Linked DNA regions of Homo sapiens: all the other regions are linked to region 2. The links are contacts of gene promoters, found by promoter capture Hi-C in blood cells and fetal thymus (Javierre and others, 2016). All regions are on one chromosome and are shown on one strand. The core of a region is centred on a gene start or on the middle of the fragment in contact, and the rest is flanking DNA. Distances in the headings are between cores, read along the strand shown. Region 1 overlaps KDM2B (lysine demethylase 2B). Region 2 holds the start of RHOF (ras homolog family member F, filopodia associated). Region 3 overlaps MLXIP (MLX interacting protein).

Evidence for each region. Contacts are between HindIII fragments. The CHiCAGO score rates a contact against its expected background, and 5 or more counts as called.
Region 1: a fragment that was not itself captured here is called in contact with the fragment with the promoter of RHOF in region 2 in 6 of 17 cell types (naive CD4 T cells, total CD8 T cells, naive CD8 T cells and 3 more); the score reaches 7.9 in naive CD4 T cells.
Region 3: a contact is called between a fragment that was not itself captured here and the fragment with the promoter of RHOF in region 2, in 1 of 17 cell types (fetal thymus). The highest score is 5.3, in fetal thymus.

What each region holds. Positions count from the first base shown.
Region 1 is chr12:121,494,335-121,498,067 of GRCh38, reverse strand. It overlaps KDM2B (lysine demethylase 2B), which reads left to right. Exons shown (of 23, transcript NM_032590.5): 12 at 3,403-3,489. Among named protein-coding and RNA genes, the nearest start is that of MIR7107, 52 kb to the right of the region's middle. The HindIII fragment of the contact is 1,767 bases long and covers 792-2,558 here.
Region 2 is chr12:121,792,280-121,796,000 of GRCh38, reverse strand. RHOF (ras homolog family member F, filopodia associated) reads left to right here and starts at 2,313. Exons shown (of 5, transcript NM_019034.3): 1 at 2,313-2,505; 2 at 2,762-2,849. The coding sequence starts at 2,368. LINC01089 (long intergenic non-protein coding RNA 1089) reads left to right here. Exons shown (of 4, transcript NR_152740.1): 4 at 1-734. It also overlaps a transcript of SETD1B not described here. RefSeq lists enhancers at 319-488, 784-1,324, 1,869-1,918, 1,865-2,405, 2,411-3,242 and a silencer at 2,399-2,938. The HindIII fragment of the contact is 6,952 bases long and covers 126-3,721 here.
Region 3 is chr12:122,079,429-122,083,063 of GRCh38, reverse strand. All of the region lies in intron 1 of MLXIP (MLX interacting protein), which reads right to left. Among named protein-coding and RNA genes, the nearest start is that of MLXIP, 2.5 kb to the right of the region's middle. RefSeq lists enhancers at 32-81, 1,689-1,738, 1,809-1,858. The HindIII fragment of the contact is 912 bases long and covers 1,884-2,795 here.

The DNA of each region.
Region 1 (3,733 bases), core at 426-2,925, 300 kb after region 2:
CTGGAGTGCAGTGGCATGGTCTCGGCCCGCTACAACCTCTGCCTACTGGGTTCAAGTGATCCTCCTACCTCAGCTTCCCAGGTCGCTGGGACCACAGGCACACACCACCACATCTGGCTAATTTTTGTAGTTTTAGTAGTGATGGGGTTTCTCCATGTTGATCAGGATGGTCTAACTCCTGGCCTCAAGTGATCCACCCGCCTTGGCCTCCCAAAGTGCTGGGATTACAGGCGTGAGCCACCGCAACTGGCCAGAGTTAAACCATTTTTACTTTTTTTTCTGTTCTAGGATCCCACCCAAGGTACAATATTACATTTAGTCTCATCAGTCTTCTCTTAGCTGCCATAGTTTCTTAGACTTTCCTTGTTTTGATGACCTTGACAGTTTTGAGGAGATCTGTTCAGGCATTTTGTAGACTGTCCCTCTTTTAGTATTTGTGGCTTTATTTTATAAAAACTCTGGGGCCAGGTGCGGTGGCTCACACCTGTAATCCCAGCACTTTGGGAGGCCGAGGCGGGTGGATCACTTGAGGCTAGGAGTTTGAGACCAGCCTGGCCAACATGGTGAAACCCTGTCTCTACTAAAAATAACAAAAATTAGCCAGGGGTGGTGGCACACGCCTGTAATCCTAGCTACTCAGGAGGCTGAGGCAGGAGACTCGCTTGAACCTGGGAGGCAGAGGTTGCAGTGAACCAAGATGGTGCCACTGCACTCCAGCCTGGGTGACAGAGTAACACTCCATCTCAAAAAACAAACAAACAAACAAAACCCAACTTTGTTTATTGGAAGCTTACTCTAGGTTAGTCATTATGTGAGGCTTTGAGGATATAGCAGTGAATAAAGACACTTTATAAATAGCATTTACAAATCATTGACATTGACTATGGGACTTTGGGGAAGCTGTATGTGCCGGGGCTGGGATTTAAACCCCTGGAGCCAGTTCTAGAGCCAACATTCTTGACCACTGTGCTGTTTGCTGTTTCCTGTGGGCTAAGGAGGAAGTTCTTCAGGTTAACAGCCACATCTTGAAAAATCACTCAAAAAAAAAAAAAGAAAAATCATGCAAGCAAATTATGATCAGGAAAGTATGATAGGCGTGCAGTGGCTCACACCTGCAATCCCAGAACTTTGGGAGGCTCACACCTATAATCCCAGCACTTTGGGGGGCTCACACCTGCAATCCCAGCACTTTGGGGGGCTCACACCTATAATCCCAGCACTTTGGGGGGCTCACACCTGCAATCCCAGCACTTTGGGAGGCTCACACTCGCAATCCCAGCACTTTGGGGGGCTCACATCCGCACTCCCAGCACTTTGGGGGGCTGAGGCAGGTGTTTTGCTTGAGCCCAGAAATTCAAGACCAGCCTGTGCAACATGGTGAGAACCCATCTGTACAAATAATACAATTAGCTGGGCTTGGTGTTACGCACTTGTAGTCCCGGCTACTGAGGAGGCTGAGGTGGGAGGATCACTTGAGCCCAGGAGTTTGAGGCTACAGTGAGCTGAGATTGTGCCCCTGCACTCCAGCCTGGGTGACAGTCACACCCTGTCTCAAAAAAAAAAAAAAAAAAAAAGGACAATGAGCAGAGTAAACTGGAAGTAAGCTGGAGTCATTTCTAGTGAAGTGAATTAGGAAAGGTGAATTAAAATAATCTTCACCTTCATTTGTCTCCTGAGCGCTTCTGCTCTTCCTGCTCAGTGCTTCTGTATGATTTACTCTGTTCTTAAATGTCCGGAAAAAATGTTTTTGTACAATTCAACAATCCGTGGTCCAGGATCAGAATGGGCCAGTGATAGTTCTGTGTGTGCTTAAACACATTTTTTTGTGGGGTGCTGTGGATGTGTGGATGTAGCCAAAAAAAACCCTATGTGGGTGGTCCTGGGGCAGAAAGTCTGGTGCCAGAGAGTGGGGTTCTGGGGGTCTGTCTTCATAGTTTGGGGTAGCACTAAAATCCTGTGAGCCTTTCTGGGCCTTGGTAACCTCCCCTGTAAGTTAGCTGTTAGATAATTCAGCTGGGTAGCATTTTATACCTGGATGATGTTCTAAAGTCCAGCCACACAAGGCCAAAGTCTGGCAGAGTGAGAATTCCCTTTGAAGAACCTTCAAACTGCTCACCGAGAGTGAACACAGTGTGCCTCGTGGGAGATCGCCAAGCAGCCTGGCAGTCCGTCCAACGCAGCCCATTTTTCTGCCACAATTTGGCCACGTGACTCCATCCTCAGTCAGACCAGATCAAGCATCTTCTTGTATTTAGGGCCCATGTTGCAAAAAACATTTACACGTCGTCACACAGCAGGGTTAGGGTACATGTAGCAAGCTGACTAAAGGACGGAGTCATGGCTCTATGAAGGCATCAAGGTCTGGAGGTTGGTTTTGTTTGCTTCGCTGAGTACGTAGTTAAATTTGTGAACATTAGAGGATCCGTAGTGCCACCGCCCAGCCCTCCCAGAGTGCTTGGTAGGAATTAAATGAGGCACAGTGGCTTACCCCTGTAATCCCAGCATTTTGGTAGGCTAAGGAGGGAGGATTCCTCGAGGCCAGGAGTTTGAGACAAGCTTGGGCAACATGGCATATACCCTGTCTGCACAAAAAAATTTAAAAATTATGGCTGGGCGTGTTGGCTCACGCCTGTAATCCCAGCACTTTGGGAGGCCAAGGCAGGTGGGTCACTTGAGGTCAGGAGTTGGAGACTAGCCTGGCCAACATGGCAAAATCCTGTCTGTACTAAAAATACAAAAATTAGCCCAGCGTGGTGGTGCACACCTGCATTCACAGCTACTCGGGAGGCTGGGGCAGGGAAATCGCTTGAACCCAAGAGGCAGAAGTTGCTTGAGCCCAGATTGCGCCACTGAACTCCAGCCTGGGTGACAGAGTAAGACTTTGTCTAAAAAAAAAAAAAAAATTTAGCCAGGGAGGGTGCCATGCACCTGTGGTCTCAGCTACTTAGGAGGCTAAGGCATGAGGATCACTTGATCCAGGTGGTCAAGGATGTAGTGAGCTATGATTATACAACTGCACTCCGGCCTGGGTGACAGAGCAAGATTCTGTCTCAAAAAAAAAAAAAAAAGAAAAAGTTTGTGTGTGAGTCCCCGACGCTCTGGACAAGTGCTAGATGTCATAACTGTGATCATGGGTGATACATACGTGGAAGTCACAGGGAGGTATGTGATTTGCTTTGTTAAAGAAATTTTGTAGAGGGCAGAGGGGAACGTTGTGTGTTTCGTGGGCCCCAGGGGACCCTAGTGACTTGGTTTCTATTGAATGTGTGGGTGGTGGTGGAGTCAATGGCCAGGCGCTGACTTTGTGGAGTGTGATCCTTGCTGGACTATGTCTGCTGTTCAGCTGTCTTCAGAGACCTCCCCTTCCCCCTGGGCTAATATGGATGCTTTGTTTGGCCACAGAACGTCCTGAAGGAGCACGCAGATGATGACCCTAGTCTGGCCATCACTGGGGTCCCTGTGGTGACTTGGCCAAAGAAGACTCCAAAGGTAAGACGCAGCCTGCCTGCAGCGGGCGGCCGCTTCCCACCTCCTTCCCACCTCCTGTAGGGTGAACAGCCGCGACTTTTTGGGTAGCTATGGGGCCTCCTGAGATGAAGGCACCGCAGTTAAGATGAAGGATTTTGGTGATTTGTTCCATGTTTTTGTTTTTAAAAGGGGGTTGCTTTACCTAGCTGTGGGAACTGCGAACAGTGCCGCCTGGTGGTCACTTGGAAAACTGGGGGGTGCTGAC
Region 2 (3,721 bases), core at 1,064-3,563:
CCAGCCTCCTGGCCAGCAGGGGTGGGTGGGCAGACTGGGGCCAGTATCAGCTGTTCTGCCTGGACCCAGGCCGGGCTGGGAAGGCACACTTGTGCTTATTTCCCGCCTCCACTTCTGTGCAAGCTTGTGCTGTCATAAGCAGAGATCACAGCCCCATTTCTTGGATGGAGAAAGTGGACACTGAGGTCTGAGGCTTTTGAGGACAGTCAGGAGCCCTCCTATGGGCTCCAGTGATGCACTCACCAGCTTCTGGTCCTCTTCTTCCACCTCTTAGAGTGCCTTGGCTCCCTCCTGTCGTCCTGGGGAACCTCGGCCCCAGCCCTGCCTCCCCAGCCAGTCACAGCTCCTCCCTGGTCACCCTGAGGGAGCTCAGGGCCCGGCTGGTAGCTGGGTTGCTCTGCTTCTGTCCCCCACTCCTGTGGAGCCTGGCAGGCAACTCCATGATCTGACCCCGGTTACCTTGACAGCCCTGCCTGGCCTCCCCTCTCATGGCCCAGCCACCCCAGAACCTGAAGAGGTTTTCTAGCTGCCGTGCATTTGCCAGGCTGGGTTACCCACCCTACTTTCCCTGCCTGCCCTCCAGTGCTGCCAGGCCTAGTGTGCCAGCCAGCGCTCAGCCTTCAGTAAAGGGTTCCCCTGCTTCCAACCTCCATTGCACTGCTTCCCCTAAGACTGTGACCTCCTGGAAGGCTGGAGCACAACTGCCTCTCAATAAACGTGTTGCAAAAAAGGAATGGATGAGTTGCTGTGCATTTGTCTAGGGGGTGCTTGACCCAGGAGATTACCCTTTGCCCAGTGCCTGAAGAGGGCGTCCACTGAGAACCTGGGGTGCCTCCCCGGCCTCCCCTTCCCAGCTCTGCTGTGGTCTTGGGATTCTGTGGGCGGTCGCTGCTGCCCTCTGGTGGTCAGACCGTGCCTTGCTTGCACTGTGAGAACCTTGACCATGGAACTGCCAGGTTGGCGGTTTTCCTCCACGAAGTGAGGTTTACATGACCCTTGCCGAGACCTTGAAAACTGGGAGTCTTCGGGGTGGGGTCGCCAGCAAAAAGATCCTGAGTCCTGCCAGCCCCTATCTGAGGAAACTACGAAGGCCACTTGCCCCCAACCATGCTGCTGTTGGGGGTTTTGTTAGAAATGGGCTCTTCCTACCCCAGCTGGTAGGATCCCACTCTCGGCCATGCTCTCGTGCCTGTCTGCCGTGGACCGGCTCCAGGGGGGGGTCCCTCTGCCACCCTGTCGACTCATCTGGGTGGTGCAGAGGGCAGTCAGCCCGCCCAGGGTGAGGAGTAAGAGGAGGGGTGGGGGTTACGGGTAATTCAGCCAGCAGCCCTGATAGCACTGCCTACAGTAAGTGCTCAACAAATAAGCTGTTTTGATCAGGGGATGGGAGAGTTGGGGGGATTCCTGGGATGAAGGACATGTGGCTGCTGGCAAGGAAACGCATTTTCTTACATTTCTTGGTGGGTGTGGGGTTATCAGTCTCCAAAGCTCCAGGAGAGGGACCAAGTTGACTTCAACTAGAGCTACTCCAACCTGCCCCTCCCTGACGACGTCTTGCGTGGTTCACGCCTCTGGCTCCTGCCGGAAGGAGGCGGCCGCCCCTAGTGGTTTCGGGCCAACCTGCGCCCGGAGCGGCCGGCGCCGAGGCGATTGCCCGGCAGAGGGCGTCAGACGTCCACCCTGCAGCCCAGGGTCGGGGTGCGGGTAAGCGGAGCCCAGTCCCTCACCCCGAACCCGCGTGCACGCTGGCGTCCCTGGCCCAGGCGAGGTGGGCAGACATGACTCTCGCGTCAGCATCTTCCCTGGTGCCACCGCCGCTACCTCCTGTGGGGAAGCTGAGGCCAGAGGCGGACATGTGCCAAGCCACACCGCTGGGGCAGTGCAAAGTTGAGGGGCTCTTCCCGGAGCTGGAGGCCGGGGGCTTCTCGAACCCGGTGCGGAGGCACAGCCAGCCAATCCGGGAGACCCTGTCTGGCCGCGCCAGCCAATCAGAGGGTCCCTGCCGAAGGCGGAGCCTGCTAATCAGGGGCACCTGGAGTCGCTGGGCAGCCACGATCGGGTCTCGCCGGCGAGGGGCGCGACGTGACGCGCGGAGGGTGGCGGTGGGTTGGGGGTGGGAGCTTTGCTCGCAGCTGAGCCCCGTTTTTCCGGTGCTGCAGTATCCCTGGGACTGAGAGCTGAATACCCACACCCAGGGCTGAGACCTTAGCAGAAAGGAAACTGAGGCTGGGAGGTCGGCCGGGAGGCTGCCTGGCGGAGGCGGCGCTGCTCCGAGTGGGCGGGGCTGGTTCCGGCCCCGCCCCGCCCCCGACCTCTTGGCTCCGCTAGTGCCCGGCGCGCCGCCGCCAGTGCTGCGGGCTCCGGGCAATGGATGCCCCCGGGGCCCTGGCCCAGACCGCCGCCCCCGGTCCGGGCAGGAAGGAGCTGAAGATCGTGATCGTGGGCGACGGCGGCTGCGGCAAGACCTCGCTGCTCATGGTGTACAGCCAGGGCTCCTTCCCCGAGGTGAGGCCCGCAGCGGGGCTGGGGTGGGGGCGAGGGACGCCCCTTACCCTGAGCCCAGAGCCCCGACCCTCAGTCCCCAGCGTCCCGAGCACGGACAGGCGGCCGCCACCCCGGGGCGCCCCCTCGGGAATTCCAGAGCCCAGCGGGGTGAGGGGGGGCTGATCCGGGACGAGTGAGGGGGGTGGACAGTGGATTCAGCTGGAACTTTGGCCCCCGCCGGCCCCACTAAGGACCAACCCGACCCCCTCTCCCGCAGCACTACGCCCCATCGGTGTTCGAGAAGTACACGGCCAGCGTGACCGTTGGCAGCAAGGAGGTGACCCTGAACCTCTACGACACGGCCGGTGAGTGCGCCTGCGCGCCGGGGGGCCCGAGGGTCCGCCCGCCCGAAGGGTTTCCCCTCCCGGGCGTCCCCCACTGGGTGTCCCCGCCCTGCAGCCTTGGCAGGGCCTTGGCCGGCTCTTCACTCCTGGAGGCCGCTCAGGGGCGCTGGCTGCGGGGCCCTAGAGGCCAAGCCCTATACGTAAGTGGAAGGTGTTTGGAGGAGGAGGTGAACTCTGGGGCCACCCTCCCAGCTCTGTGCTGAGAGCCCACAGCTCGTTCCTCTCCTGTGGTTCTAGAAAGCAGTGGGCTGCTCTTGGGCCTCCCATGGTTCCAGGATTGCTGCGCTACCTGCTGTGGTCTCTGCAGACTCTGTGAGCTGCAGATTTGAGTCCCTTGGTGCTCGGATTGCCTGGGCTGTGTGTCTGGGTCCTGTGGTTCTGGGATGCTCCCGGCTGCAGATCAGCCTGTGGCTCCAGGGCTCTGTGGCCTGCGCTCTGCAGCCTGAGGCTCTGGGGTCCTGTGGATGCGAGTTCTGTGTCTGCAGCTCCCAGGATTCCACGGCTTGCAGTTGGTGGTTCTGGAATTGCGTGGCTACAATTACTTCTGTGCTTTCCTAGTTCCCTGGGACAAAACCAGACAGTGTAGAAAATGAACTGAGGAAGGAACAGAGCACTGGGGGCAGGGGCCCCACACCAGGCTCTGCCTGCCACCTGCAGGCCCCCACGGGTGGTTTACGGATTTATGTGCAATTGCTTGGGAGTCGGTGTTGTGAGGGGTGGGGACAGGAGAAACAGTCAGTGGGAGGACCCTGACTCCCATCTGGGCTTCATCAACATTGGGGACCAAAGGTTGAGATCCCCAGGTGGGGCCTCACCCCACCTCTGTGACTCAG
Region 3 (3,635 bases), core at 1,090-3,589, 290 kb before region 2:
AGGACTGCTTAAGGCCAGGAGTTCAAGACCATCCTGAGAAGCATAGCAACACCCCATATCTACAAAAAATAAAAAATTAGCCAGGCATAGTAGTGCGTGCCCGCAGTCCCAGCTACTCAAGAGGCTGAGACAAGAGGACTGCTTGAGCCTGGGAGGTCAAGGCTGCAGTGAGCTGTGATCACATCACTATCCTCCAGACTGGGAAACAGAGCGAGATCCTATCTCAAAAAAAGGAAATTCTGTGTGAAGGATATACATGTGTGACATTCCTTACAGTGTCAAGAGGGCAAGAACCATGAACTATGTTCTACAGTACATAGCTCCATTGTAGAGCCTCAGAAAGCACCCGGCCAAATCAAGAATGCTTCTATTTAGTATTTGTCAAGCAGGCATTTGAAAGCTCAGCTAAGACCCTGGTTAGATACACTATTTCCTTCAGTTCATAGATAAGACACGGGCTCCTCATAAATGTCAGATGAATGCAGATGCAGAACTAAAATTCTGCCATAACCCACTTGCTATGCGGAGCCCGTTAAACCCTCCTCTTGTGTGTTACTTGCCAGGCACTAGCCCCATTCCCAGCTCCATTCCCAGAGGTTATCTCTGCTGATCCTCACTTCCACCTTGCAGGGAAATTTTATCTTTCCCATTGAATAGCATTCTTAGACTTCAGATAAGTCTAAGGAAAAATAAGGATTTTTTCCATCATTAACACCTGGTTTGCCTCGGGGAAAGGCAACCCCTTCTCTCCAAAATGTCCCAATAATTGAGCACATGTTTCTGGACCAAATCAAGACCCTTCGCCACAGGGCTTCTCAGCAAAACTGAGTGAGAAGGACAAGGAATCCCATCTGCACGGTTCCCTACCCAGCAGGCCCTGGGCACACTCATATCCAAGTCCTCAAACACCCTGTTCCACACCCAAAGTCAGCCCCGGGCAAAGACCCTTCAGGAGGTGAAGCCCTGCCAGTTCAGGAATGGATCACAGTCAGAATCCCTAGGCCACTTCTCAGGACTCGGTAAAAAATAACCACAACTTCCCCTGCACTTAGTTCCTCCCCAGAGAGCTGTTGAACCTCATCTGGAAACAGCTGGGAGGCAGCAGCTAACAGGAAATCAAACAACAACAACAAAAAGCAGAGTGTACCACGGAGAGTTAGACAGCTAGAACGAAGAGGCCAGAGGACAGACAGGAAGTTGAAGTTAGAAAGAACCTAGGCCAGAAACAGTCACACAGAAGAGGAGACCCAGCTGGCCTTTCTCAGCTCGGGCAGGAGGGGAGGACCCAGACAGCCGGCAGGGAAGGCATGAACCCCACCAGGATGGAAGCCAGACAGGCTCTGAGGTTAAGTCTTCTTTCTGCCCTGCCCCCAATCCCTTTTTTTCTTTCTTTCTTTTTCTTTTTTAGAGATGGGGATCTTGCTACATTGCCCAGGCTGATCTTGAACTCCTGGGCTCAAGCAATCCCCCACCTCGGCCTCCCAAAGTGCTGGGACTACAGGCATGAGCCACCACGCCCCGCGTTGCCTCCGATCTCAACCTTCCTTCCCTGAAAGCCAGGTAGCAGTTCTCACTAGGAGAGCTGGGGTCAGAAACTCACCTTCCTCTAGTTTCTTTCTGTGCCACAGACTACAGCCCAGACAACTGGTTTTGAGTCATTTGTCTGTCATCCATACCAAAGTTCTACACTGCCAACTAAACTCAGCACTGGACAAACCAGCCTCACACAGACAGACAAAGGGCATCTTCATGAGAAATGACTGGACAGATCCCATCCGAGGGCCTGTGGTGGTAGACCTTAGGTGGCCGACCTTAGGCAGCAGGAGACCTTAGGCACAGGGAAAAGCAGCGAAAGTGAGAGAGCCAAGAGAGCAAGATAAGCTTCTTGCACCAAACTGATGGTGCATTTTGCAATCAAGAAAGTTAACTGAGCAACGGCCAGCTGCCAAAATATTTTTGAGAGAAATGAAAAAAAAAATGCCATTACTAAAATTATTTGGTGTTGTTTAATAAGCCTTTAGGTTATCCAAACAAGAGTGCAAAGGGGAGACTGATTTAGTTTTCATTTAGCAGAGCTTACTTAGGTGAGACCTTTCCAGTCCATGCCCCCCGTGACTCATCCATTCTCTCCCTGTATATGTAGAAGTTTATATTAAAATAAAGAAGAGGATTAAGTTTTCTTAATAAGATACATTCCAGTCTTTCACCTCGAGCTTTGTTTGAAAAGGCTCTCTCGAGGCATAGCATATGCTGCGATCCAGTCGGGTTTGATTCCAATGGAACTGCTCAAAATCAGAGACTGGAGGGCGCACAGGGCTGCAGCCTCAACACCATTTGTTTTTTAAAAAGCAGAACATCTTTACAGGCTCAGTGCCAGCTCAAACTGGCAAGACCAGAGAATCAGCAGAGACTGACCAATGTGCCGGGTAAGGGGGATGGGAGGAGGAGCTACGGGAACAGATCATCAGGGAAACCTTCAAGAGAGGAAATAGGGGTGTTTCAGGAACATAACAAAGAACAAGTTGACTAATCGTTTATTCCAGGGACCGCGGCGGTGAGGGGGGTGCCATCCAGGGCTAAGTATCTAATATTTTAACTTCAGGTAAAAGCATAACATTTAAACCTGGATATGCTTGGGGCTCACAGCTCTCTTAAAAAGGTGAGGTGAGAGGGGGCAAGATATTCCTGCTCTTTTATTACGCTGTTTATGGAGTCTCCTAGGAAACTTCTCCCGCGATGCCTCCAGAGCAGACCTAAGACAGCCCCCGCTAGTCCAGTTCCTAATGCAATAAGCTTAACTCAGCAGAGATCCCATCATGAGCTTTCTGCAGGGCCAAGCTGCTCAAGGCCGCTGCTGCCAGTCCAAAGAAGTTCTGTTGCGCAGACAAAAAAGTTACCTGCAGCAAATACCTAATATTCATAGTGGGAAAGGGAGAGAGAGTGAAAAAGCGCTTTAATCTTTGAGGGCCAGGCATTTTCTGTGACTTGGAAAAGAGGAATCTCTGCCCAGAGCCGAATCCACATGTCAGAACGGTGTCTGGGATGTCTGCCCTCAACAATGACATCTCCCTCATATAATGTTTCAGGACCGGCCAGAAAACCCTCCAACTTGCCAGAAGGACAGACTGCACCTCCAACAGCTGTGGCACCAAAAGTCTTCTTAGGAGGCACCCAAAGCCCTCCCGAGATGGGGGCGGGCCTCCCGATGAGGTTGTAAGGGGGCCAGCCTCCAGGTGCAGGGACACCTAACTCTGGCCAAGCACTGGAATAAGCAATTTACCTATCTCACTCCATCCCCACAACAGCCCCTTGGAGGCAGACACTACAGTCATTCCCCTTTTATAAAGGAGGAAACAGGCTCCGAGGTGTTACACAACCATTAAACAGCAGAGCCAGCCTCCAGTCACCCCGAACAGGTGGTCCTGACCGCTGCTGGATATGGGGGAAACACACAAAGCGTTTGGAGGAAGGAGTCGATAGAGTCGGGTAACACAAGATGCAGCCAGTGTTTATACCTCTTCCTCGTCCAACATCGGTGGTCCCAGGACACTGGAGGGGAGGGCCTGGATGGGGAACGTGAACCCGAAAGGACCCCGGCACTGCTGGCAGGGGAAGAGGCCAGGACCCCGGCTCCT